Regions from separate parts of the Homo sapiens genome. Here region 2 is linked to region 1. The links are contacts of gene promoters, found by promoter capture Hi-C in human tissues and cell types (Jung and others, 2019). All regions are on one chromosome and are shown on one strand. The core of a region is centred on a gene start or on the middle of the fragment in contact, and the rest is flanking DNA. Distances in the headings are between cores, read along the strand shown.

What was found. Contacts are between HindIII fragments. The study calls those that stand out against the background at their distance.
Region 2: a fragment that was not itself captured here is called in contact with the fragment with the promoter of ZNF423 in region 1 in 1 of the 25 tissues and cell types used here (lymphoblastoid cells).

What each region holds. Positions count from the first base shown.
Region 1 is chr16:49,852,868-49,858,255 of GRCh38, reverse strand. ZNF423 (zinc finger protein 423) reads left to right here and starts at 2,144. Exons shown (of 8, transcript NM_001379286.1): 1 at 2,144-2,521. The coding sequence starts at 2,482. RefSeq lists a silencer at 2,641-2,900. The HindIII fragment of the contact is 13,140 bases long and covers 1-5,388 here.
Region 2 is chr16:49,894,412-49,899,799 of GRCh38, reverse strand. No RefSeq gene overlaps it. Among named protein-coding and RNA genes, the nearest start is that of ZNF423, 41 kb to the right of the region's middle. The HindIII fragment of the contact is 4,838 bases long and covers 1-4,492 here.

The DNA of each region.
Region 1 (5,388 bases), core at 895-3,394:
GGGGCGGGCGCCGCGGCCCGGCCGGCCCCGGCGCTGTTCTCGGCGGGCAGCGGGTTTTTCCGTGAAAGGTTGCCCTGGGTAACTCGTCTCCGAGGGGACGTAGCCCTCCCCTCTCCAAGTGGCAACTTATCGATCCGAGAGATTGATAACCCCCAGCGCCGCGCCGTGCACCCGCTCCGTTCTCCTGGCTCCGGGGCGCGCCGGCCCAAGGTGGCGCCACTCACCCGGGAGGGGGGCGAGGTCGGGGCCGCTCCCCACCCGAGACCTGGCCGCCTGCAGCTAGTTGGGGAGGGAGAGGCTCCGAGGAACGGTTTAGGGGAGCCGTCTGGGGAAGACTTTTCCCAAGTCAGAACCCTTCCCGGGCCTGCCCGGAGACCAGAGTCTCAGCCGGTTCAGGAGCTGCGGGGGACGCGCGGCGCCCCCTGGCGGCTGGGTAAAACCTCGCAGAAAGTAGCAGCTGGTTTATTTCTTCTGACAACTGCGCGGGGAGGGGGTGCTCCTGCAAGGTCTCAGGGGTAAGGTGTTCCTTTTACAGTCGGACAGAGGAAGTGCACACCAGGCGCGAGAATTCTACAAATAAGGGTGTAGGGGGCGCACGGGGTTAGCCCAGTGGTGGAAGAATTTGTTGGATGTGGGGCAGGGGTGGTCTTTGAACACCGACCGGTGGGCAAAAGCCAACCTGGCAGAGCCAGGTCCCTGGATAGTTCATGTGCGTGAGGCATACATCGCGAGGTGGCAATACTAGGGCAGCCCAACTCCGTTTGCTCCCCCATTCTTTCACTTTTTACAGTTTGTGAGGCTCATGCGTCTTGGCGAGCTTGACAGCCGCGTGGGCCCTAAGTGTGTTCCCTCCTCCTGCCCCCGGTGCAGCCAGCGCCCGAGCCCCGGCCCCGCGTGCTGGTGCGGTGCCCGCGCCCGCGCCGTGCCTGCCGCCGCCGCCGCCGCCGCCACCACGGTCCGGGTTTTGCGGGCGGCCGGAGCTGTATTTCCAGCGCTGTCCATCGCTCGGTGCTGTTGGCCCTCTCTCCGTCTGATCCGAGCCGGAGCAGTGCGGGGCGCCCCACGGGATCAGAGCGCTCCCCCGCCGGGACTCCGCTCCTCACATCCTCCTGCTGGGACCCGGCTACATTTCCAGCCAAGCCTGGCTTTATTATGTGTCTCTGCAGTGCAGCCCCAGCAGCCGGATCGGGAGGAGGAGAGCCAGCGACCACAAAGAAGACAGGAGCGCGAGGGAGGCTGGCGGGCGGGCCGGCGCCGGCTGGAGCGCGGAGGAGCCGGGGCGCAGCCGCCGCCGCCGCTGCCCAGGAGGACGGGAGCCCGGCCGCCGCCGCCGCCGCCTGCTCGTCCTCCTCTTCCGCCACCGCGGCCGCCGCCTCCCCCCTCTCCGAGCCCCTGGCCCATGGAGGCAGCTAGCGGGGCCGGCGACTTGGCACCGGCCTGGGGATCGGCTGCGCGCCTCGCGCTGAGCACCGCAGCCCGAGGGCAGGCAGCGGCGGCCCGGCGCACGGGCTGAGCGATGCCCGGGGCACGGGCGCGCCTGCCGGCCGCCGCCTGAGCGCCCCCGCGCGCCCCTTCCTCCTCCGGGGGGCCGGCGCCGGGCCGATCCGAGAGCCAGAGAAGGGGGCGTGAGCCAGGGGCCCCGAGCCGCGGCTTCCGAGCCACTGCGGCCGTTTCGAGCCTCCCCTCCAAGTAGGCTGAGTTGAGGGACCCCCGCCCCCCATCCATCATAATCTCCAAACCAGGCGCTTGGGCATTTTTGAGCCATTAATATTTATTATTTTTTTTTGTGCGGCAGGGGATAATTCGAAGGCTTCTTTTTTTTTTTTTTCCTGGGGGGTACTGAGCTTCCGCGCTCCCGACCGCCTCCCGGTCTCCTCCCCCCTTGAGATACCCTCGACTCCAGCCCCGTTCCCCCTCCTCAGATGGGTTCATTGTGAGCTCCGCACCGGGCTGCGTGGCCGGACGCCTGCAAACTTTGCACAAAAATCCGGCAAGGGGCGGAGGAGGAGGAGAAGGAGGAGGAGGGTGAGGGTGGCGGTAGGGTGGGGGAGGGAAGGAGGGGGCCGCAGGGGCCGGGGGCCGGCGGGGGGTTGGGAGGAGGAGGGGGGCGGCTTTTTTTTTTTTTTTTTTTTTTTTTTTTTTGCATAACTCGGCTCGGCCGAGTGGCCTCCGGACTCCCCGCGCCGCTGGGACCGCCGCTTGGATCGGGAGCCCCGGACTGCCGCATTGCAACAGGCAGGGCCCCGGCGCGCCCCCCGGGCCTCCCCCCGCCTTCGAGCGGCCTCGGCCGGCCCGGGCTGCCCCCCCAAGGGAGGCCGCCCCGGACCTGCGGTCCGCTCCCCACAGCCGCCAACCGGGCTGCAAAAAAAAAAGTTTCCAAGAGACAGGCGGAGGAGAAGGGGGAGAAGGGCTGCCCGGAGCGGCGGGGGGCGGCGGGGGGAGCCGGCTGCGGAGGGCGACGGAGCGCCCGGAGCCCCGGACATGTCCAGGCGGAAGCAGGCGAAGCCGCGCTCGGTGAAAGGTGAGCGAGCGAGGCCCGGCGGAGGCGCGAGCGAGCGAGCGAGGAGGGAGGGAGCGAGGGAGGAGGGACCGGCGAGCGGGCTGGCTGCCGGGGACCCGCGCGAGCGAGCCGAGAGGAGGAGGAGGAGGCGGCAGAGGAGGCGGAGGCGGAGGCGGAGGCGGAGGAGGGGGAGGAGGAAGCCGGGAGCAGGAGGCGGAGGCGGCGGCGGCGGCGGCGGCGGCGGAGGGGGTACGCCGCGGACACCCTCCCTGCCCGGACTCGGCGCCGTCGCCCTTGGGGGACCCAGGCCTGGGGGCGCCGCTAAGGGGCCCTTGCCGCTCCCTCCGTGCGGGGCCCGGGCCCGTGTGGCCAATCAAGGGGTGCTGGCCCGACTTGGCGGGGATTGCGAATCTCGGCGGCGGCGGGCGGGCGACAGGAGGAAGGAAGAGGCGGCGAGGACGGGCGCCCGGCAGGCCGACCGCTCCTCGCTGGCCCCGGGCCTCGCTGGCTCTCTCTGGCCCCTGCCTGGTCGCCCGAGGACGCGGGGAGCGGCGGGCGCTGTCGGCGAGCGCCCCGGGCGCCGCGCCCTCGCCCCGGCCGCCTGGCGCCCCCTCCCGCCCCTGCCCAGGCCTTCTCCCGGCCCGGGCCCCTGCACTTCCTGCCTCCTCCACCGAGGCCCACCGGGCAGGGAGCCTCCGCCAGGAGTTCATTGTCTGCACGGCGCCGGCGGGACGCAGGTCCTCAGGGGAGCTCAGCGGCCGCGGTGCGCGCCCCTCCGCGGAGGGCGCCCCGGATCTGACCCCGGGCACCGGCACCCTGGATCTGACCCCGGGCACCGGCACCCTCGACACCCAGGCCGGCTTTCTGTGCTGGCTCCCCGGGGTGCGCGCGTTTGTGGGGAGCTGCAGATATATAGATACACACACCCATCCCTTCGTCTCCACGCTTTGCTTTCTATTTCCAGCGAGGGCCCCCAGCTCGAGGGGACCCCTGGAGAGTAGAGGCCCCGGGGAAAGGCCGCGCGCCGGCAGCAGAGCCCCTCCCCTGGCCTCCTCTCCCCGCGGCTGGCCTTTCCAGGCCTTGCCTGCTGCTTTGTCCCGATTCTAGCCCCTCGGTTGGGTGCCCGGGCGCTCGGCTGTGAGATGGGAGATGATCGAGGAAGGGGGGAACGATGAGAGCGGCTAAGTCTACGGAGCCAAAAGCCCCCAGGCCCTTGTCTTCTCCCATCTCCCCTGATGACCTCTGGCCTGAGCCCAGTTCTGCTCTGAAAAGTTCATTTCCTGGAGGCCTGCGCGGGAAGGCGCTGGGGCCCCGCTCCCTTCCTGCCAGCCTTGCGCCTGGCTGGAATGGCTGGAACTGAATCTGGCAAGGAGGATCTTGAGACACTCGTCAGTTCTGTCCTCCTGAAGTCCCCGGAGGGACTGCCCCCGGCCCAGCAGAGATCCTCCCCGTCATATTAGAAGGAGACCAACTGAGTCCAAACGGAGCGCCCGGCCCGTTCCTACTCCTCCTTTTCCCTGAGAGAAGTTGGTCTTGTTCGCCTCACCCTGGCTGGTCTCCCAATCCGGGACAGCCTGGCCTGCTCCACAGAACTGGGGGTTCAGAGGGTGTTCTGATTGGGGGACAGGGAAACCAGAAGAGAGACTCCAAGAAGAGGACGGGAAAGAAGGGTGGATGTTTCTCTTTTGCTGATGGAAGGGCTGTACGGCTTGAAATAATACTGGATTTCTTTTCTCTTTCCCTGGCTCACTGCTCACTCCTTCAGGAGCCACTTAAGAGGCGACCCAGAAGAAAATGTGGAATTGGAATTTCTGGTTGGAAAAACAGTTTTATTTAACTCAGGCAGTTGATTTTGAGTTTGCAAAGCTTGCTTACCTAGACTTCCAATCCACTTCTCCAAACCTCCTTACGTTAGACGGCGAGACCCAGAAAGCAAAAGGAGAGCAGTTTGCAGTGAACAGATGGGTGGGTGTTTCAAAGTTGCTTGAACCGAGTTCTAAAACCACTCTGTGGATCTCTGAGAAGGACTCAAGAATTGGTCTTCAGCCTTTCATGAAATGAGCCTTGAAATGATTTTTAGTGAGTGCCTCTCTCAAATGTGTATGTGTGTATGTGTAGCAGACAGTTCAAGCAGGTTGGTAGGAGAAAGGCAGCAAGGTGAACAGGAGACCAGTGGAGGCATTTCGAGACTCGGTGTTGTAAATATCAGCCACACAGAGCCTTTCTGTCCGCAGAGTCAGAGACCCCCTGATTCTTCCCATGGCTTTTTGCATTTTCCAAAAGCAGCTACAACCCTTGTCTCTCACCATTTTACCTTTTATTCTGTTTACTGGGGTGAAGAGGGTGGAGATGTGGCCACTTATCAAGGGAGGAATTAAGAGAGAAGATAATTTGGATAGATAAGAGTTCCAGCAGGTGAGGGATTTATTGCTTTTCAAGAACTGCTCCCCCCCCGCCCCGCCCCTTCTCTTAAGCAATATTCAAAAGTGTGTGCTTGAGTGTGGACAGCTCCACACCAAGTGTTTGAAACGACAAGGTCTTCACCTTTAAAGATGCTTGAAAGTGCTTCTTAAGGAACAGCGGTGTCTTTTACATTTTATTTTATTTTATTTTGCCTCCACTGCTGTGTGTCAGGGCTAATGTAGAGGCTTTGTGGACTTCCCCGGCCCCGAGCATTCTGCTGTGAAAGTCGCTTGACTGTAATTTGTAGTTGATCTCGGAAATGTGAAAGTCCATAGCAGGAAGGAAAGACAGAAATACAACAATTTCGAATGGATGCTCAGAAAGTGTGATTTGAAAGCACAGGCATTGCTGCTTTGAAAATAAAACTGGCCTCTGGGGGCTGGGGTGGTCTCACTTCCCACTCACGGACACAACCTCCCTTCTGG
Region 2 (5,388 bases), core at 824-3,323, 42 kb before region 1:
AGAGGGTAGGCCTCCCTGGGGGCCAAGAGAGGCCTTGATAAAAAAAAAAAATGCAATATTCAAGTGGTTAACGATGGCACAAGGATCTGTAAGCAGCAGCTTACAGGGTTCTCCTAGCCACATGTTTGCTTCTGAGGATTCCCAACGGAAGGAGGGAGCCCAAGCTCCCTGGGGACACAGGTGCAAGAAGCAGCTCCTCTTGTCTATTTCATTCACCTTCTCTTGCTGGTTGCCCCCAGTGGAATTTACTCATTCATTCATTCAGCATATATCTACTGGGCACCCATTCCGTGCCAGGTGCAGAAGCTACAGCGCTGAGCAAGATGGCCAGAGGCCCTGATCTCAAGGAGCTGACAGCAATGAACAGAGAGATCAGAAACAAACGCAGTGACTTCTAATTGTGATAGAGGCTGTGTTGGCAGGAATCAGAACGATGTGACAGAAAGTGAGGGATAGGAGAATATTAAACCAGGCCATCAGGAATGGCCTCTGTGAGGAGGGGACATTTCCTCTGAGGCTCGCTGGATGCACTGAAGTCCTAAAAGGGCAAAGGACCCAAGGCAGATTCCAGGAACATTGAGATGGCCTGAGTGCCGGGCATGGCAGTCAGGGGCATCTGAAAGGTGTCATCAGCAGGGGCCCGTCATCGTGGGCTGGGCTGGGCTGGCAGTGGGCGTGTGATGGATTTTACTCTGATAGTCAGGGAAGCCACTGGAAAGTTTTAGCCAGGATTGATGTGATCAGCTCTGCATTTGGAGGACACTGTCCTAGAGGCCATGAAGGGAGCAGGTTGGAGGGACCAGTAAGGGCGTGCAGAGACGGATCAGAGGGACTCCTTAAGAGCCCTGAGGCCTCTTAGGTGGGTGAGACATGGTGCTGGCTTCCACTTCAGTCTTCAAGGTAAAAAAAGGGTGGCCTACGGAGGCATTTGCAACTATAGGGGTTACCCTGGGTTTTTTGTTTTTGTTTTAGAGACAGAGTCTTGCTCTGTTGCCAAGGCTGGAGTTCAGTGGCACAATCATAGCTCACTGTAGCCTCGAATTCCTGGGCTCGAGCAATCATTCTGCCTCAGCCTCCTGGGTAGCTGGGATTACAGGTGCCACCACCATGTCCAGTTAATTTTTAATTTTTTCATAGAGATGGAGTCTTGCTATGTTGCCCAGGCTGGTCTCGAACTCCTAGCCTTAAGTGATCCTCCCACCTCAGCTTCCCAAACTGCTAGGATGATAGGCGTAAGCCACTGTGCCTGATCTTACCCTGCGTTTTAATTGACCATCTGTGGCTGCTGCTTGGGTAGAAGAGGGTTTCAGTTTATTATTTTAAAATGTGTACATGGGGCTGGGCATGATGGCTTACACCTATAATCCCAGCAGGTGAGGGAGTCTGAGGCAGGAGGATCGCTTTAGCACAGGAGTTCAAGGTTACAGTGAGCTATGATCAAATCACTGCATTTCAGCCTGCCTCAGAGTGAGACCCTGTCTCTACAAATGCACACACACACACACACACACACAAAGATTCTGCTTTTGTGGAGCAAGAAGGGACCTGAGTTCAACTCTGGCCTGAGAAGGCCAGGGCAGTTCAGGCAGCTGGTCACTGGGCACCATGACCAGCCCACCCCCGGGGCAAAGCCCAGTGAAGGAGGCATGGGAGGCTGATTTCACCTCTGCCCTCGGAATGAAAAGGGAGTACTTAGCTGGGGCTAGTGCAGAGGGCAAACGGAAGCTTGCTGCCCAGCTCACGTTTCTTTCTGGTAATATTCCTCTCTGCAGGATTCACTTGGGGACCAGCTCATTTCAGGCTCTACAGGCACCAGGATGGTCCCATCTCTGATCATCAGTGGGCAGAAGATACCTGGTTGTGAGTTCTAAAGAGGAAATCTCAAGTTAGGTCTGGTGAAAGGCAGAAATAGCTGGAAAAAGTAGAGGGGACTGCCAAGCTTTTGCTCTTCCAAAGGTTTTGGAAAAATAGGAATGGAATAACTGTCTTTCTGGAATAGGATGCAGAAAGAGTCCCTTATAGTTGCTTAAAATTCTAACTCCAGGCTTCCTCATTCACAAGTCTGGATGGTGCTCCCAGGGAGTATGGAAAAGTCAGCCAGCCCTGGAAGCTCTGGCTGGAGAAATCTGAGGGTCACTGAGTGAACTCAGGGTGGCATGGGGCGAAGAGTGGGCGCTGAGGGAGTACTCCTGTGTTTAGATCTACAGTCTGACCCTGGGAGCTGCTCCATCAGAAGCCATCTCAGAGACAAGGACACGAATCCAAGTGTGTTTAGAGGGGATCTCAGAGAGCACCACACGGGAGACAGGAAAGAGCAGGGCAGGAAGGAACCAGTAAAGGGTCTGTTTCTCAGCAGGTCTGTTTCTTTTTTTTCTTTTTTTTTTTTGATACGGAGTCTCCCTCTGTCGCCCAGGCTGGAGTGCAGTGGCGCGATCTGGGCTCACTGCTAGCTCTGCCTCCTGGGTTCACGCCATTCTCCTGCCTCAGCCTCCCAAGTAGCTGGGACTACAGGTGACTGCCACCACGCCCGGCTAATTTTTTGCACTTTTAGTGGAGATGGGGTTTCACCGTGTTAGCCAGAATGGTCTCGATCTCCTGATCTCGTGATCTGCCCGCCTTGGCCTCCCAAAGTGCTGGGATTACAGGCGTGAGCCACCGCGTCCGGCCCTCAGCAGGTCTGTTTCTGAGCAGCTCTGGGAGTCAGCACTTGGCTGCACCCAGATGGATGGGGGAGCCAGGGCATTTATATGCCAGCCCTCGCCACCATTGGCTGAGGGCTGTATGGAGGCATATAGGTGCGGCATCCACTGTGTCTGCTGCAGCAAGTTATGTAGCCCAAGCCTCCACTGCTTCTTCTATAAAATGGGGATAATAAGAGCAACCTTGCTTTAAAAAAATAAGTAAGAAGCCTGTCTCCTCAGGTGACTGAGACTGAATGAGAATGCCGGTAAGGCTTGTGCTTCAGGGCGGGGCACTGGGCATGTGCTCTTTCCTTTGTTTGATGGATATTTACTGTGGGTCTCACAGTGCCAGGCCCTGGGATTCCATAGAGAACACAAGCAACTTGTAGCTGATCCCCGTGAAGCTGGACTCATGAGCAATCCTCGAGTCAGCGACAGCAAGTGTGACGGAGCCACAGAAGGGCAAGGCAGCGTGGGGAGGCGCCCCAAAGCAGACACCGACTCCCTTTATGGAGGCGCCATGTGAGACAACCCCACCCCAGTGTCTCCCATAACAGTAACATAGCCGGTTTCTTTTTTCTTTCTTTCTTTTTTTTTCTTTTTTTTTTTTGAGAGATGGTCTCACTCTGTGGCCCAGGCTGGAATGAGTGGCGTGATCATGGCTCACTGCAACTTTGACCTCCTGTGCTCAAGTGATCCTTCCGCCTCAGCCTCTCAGGCAGCTAGGACTACTACCAGGGGTGTGCCACCACGCCGGCTAATTTTTTATTGTTGTTTATTTATTGTTAATTTTTATTTTTTAGAGATGGGGTCTCACTATGTTGACCAGGCTGGTCTCAAACTCCTGGGACATGGCCAGTTTCTATGGGTAAGGACTGGGTGACATTTTGGTTTGTGTTCAGGGGTCAAGTGGTAGGAAAAATATACACTAAAAACACTAGAGTGGTTCCCAGTGCAGGAAGGTGGTTGCATTGTGAGAGAAACCAGGGCCCCGAGGCCAACCGAGGGAGGAGGGGCTGTGCTTCTATTTCACACTCAACCATGGAGGGAGCAGCGGGCAGAGCAGCCTGCCTGTTAAGATGAGACCAGCGTGGCCAACATGGTGAAACTCCGTCTCTACTAAAAATACAAATATTAGCCAGGCATTGTGGCAGGTGCCTGTAATCCCAGCTACTTGCGAGGTTGAGGCATGAGAATCTCTTGAACCCGGGAGGCGGAGGTTGCAGTGAGCCAAGATCCCACCACTGCACTCCAGCCTGGGCGACAGAGCGAGACTGTCTCAAAATAAATAAATAAATAAAAAGTTGACCCTTTTCCTCTCTTTCTTCCCCACCTCACATGCTGAGAGGTGGTTCCATGCCTGAAATGAGTTGGGATGGAATTCCACTATTGTCACCAACACTGTGGGCCCCTGCCGTAGCCCCGCAGCACTCCCTATGGTGGGGGTGCCCATCTGGTGGCTTTTCCTGCCAGCCCCTGACTTTCTCTGGTCCCTGTGGAGGAGGCAGGTCAGGGAGGTGGGGAGTCGGCACTCCCCGGAGCAGCTCCCAGCCAGCTCAGCTATCCCTCAGCAGGAGCAGCTCAAGCACCCTACTATGTCTCCCAGGATGCCCCAGCCACCACAGCGGCCACCAGGGCAATGGCATGCTCTGCCCCCACTTCCCTGCCCTGCCTGGACTGTCTTTCCCCATTTCCTCCCCTTGGCAAATTCAGGGGTCCACTTCCAGAGCTTTGTTGACATCTTGCCCAGCAGCTGGTCCCTTTTCCTCTAAGCTCACCTGACAGTTTCTCAAACTTCCTTTGTCACAGATGTACGCAGGAACACTATTACCTACTTGGCATTTTTATTTAAATCAATGTTTTAAAATTTTTTATTAAGTTTTTAAAGGCAGGGTCTTGCTCTGTTACCCAGGCTGGAGGGCAGCGACACAATCACAGCTCACTGGAGCCTTGAACCCCTGGGCTCAAGTGATCCACCCACCTCAGCCTCCTGAGTATCTGGGACCTATAGGCACATGCCACCATGCTGGCTATTTTTTTTTCTTTTGAAGTTGTTGTAGAGACAGGGGTCTCACTGTGTTGCTCAGGCTGGTCTTGAACTCCTGGACTCAAGTGAACCTCCTGCCTCGGCCTCCCGAAGTGTTGGGACTATAGGTGTGAGCCACTGCACTTGGCCTAAATCAATGTTTTAATTGACTCACATTTTTTATTATGACAAAATACATATAATGTAAAATTTACCATTTTAACCATGTTTAGGTGCACAATTCAGTGGCACTAAAATTATGCAATCATCACCTCTACACATCTGCAGAACTTTCCCATCACCCCAGACAGAAACTCCGTCCCCACTAAACACTGACTCCTATCCTCCCCTCCCCCAGCCCTGGCACCCTCTATTCCACCTTCTGTTTCTATGTTTCTATTCTAGGGACCTCCAATCAGTGGAATCACACAAAGTTTGTCTTTCTGTGTCTGGCCTACTTCACTTAGCAGAATGTTATCAAGGTTCTTCCATGTCGTAGCATGTATCAGAATTCATTTATTTTCATGGCTAACTGATATTCCACCATAGGTATATTCTACCTTTTGTCTATTCATCTGTTGATGGACATTCAGGTTGGCTCACTTTTTTTTTTTTTTTTGAGACGGAGTCTCACTCTGTCACCCAGGCTGGAGTGCAGTGGCGCGATATCAGCTCACTGTA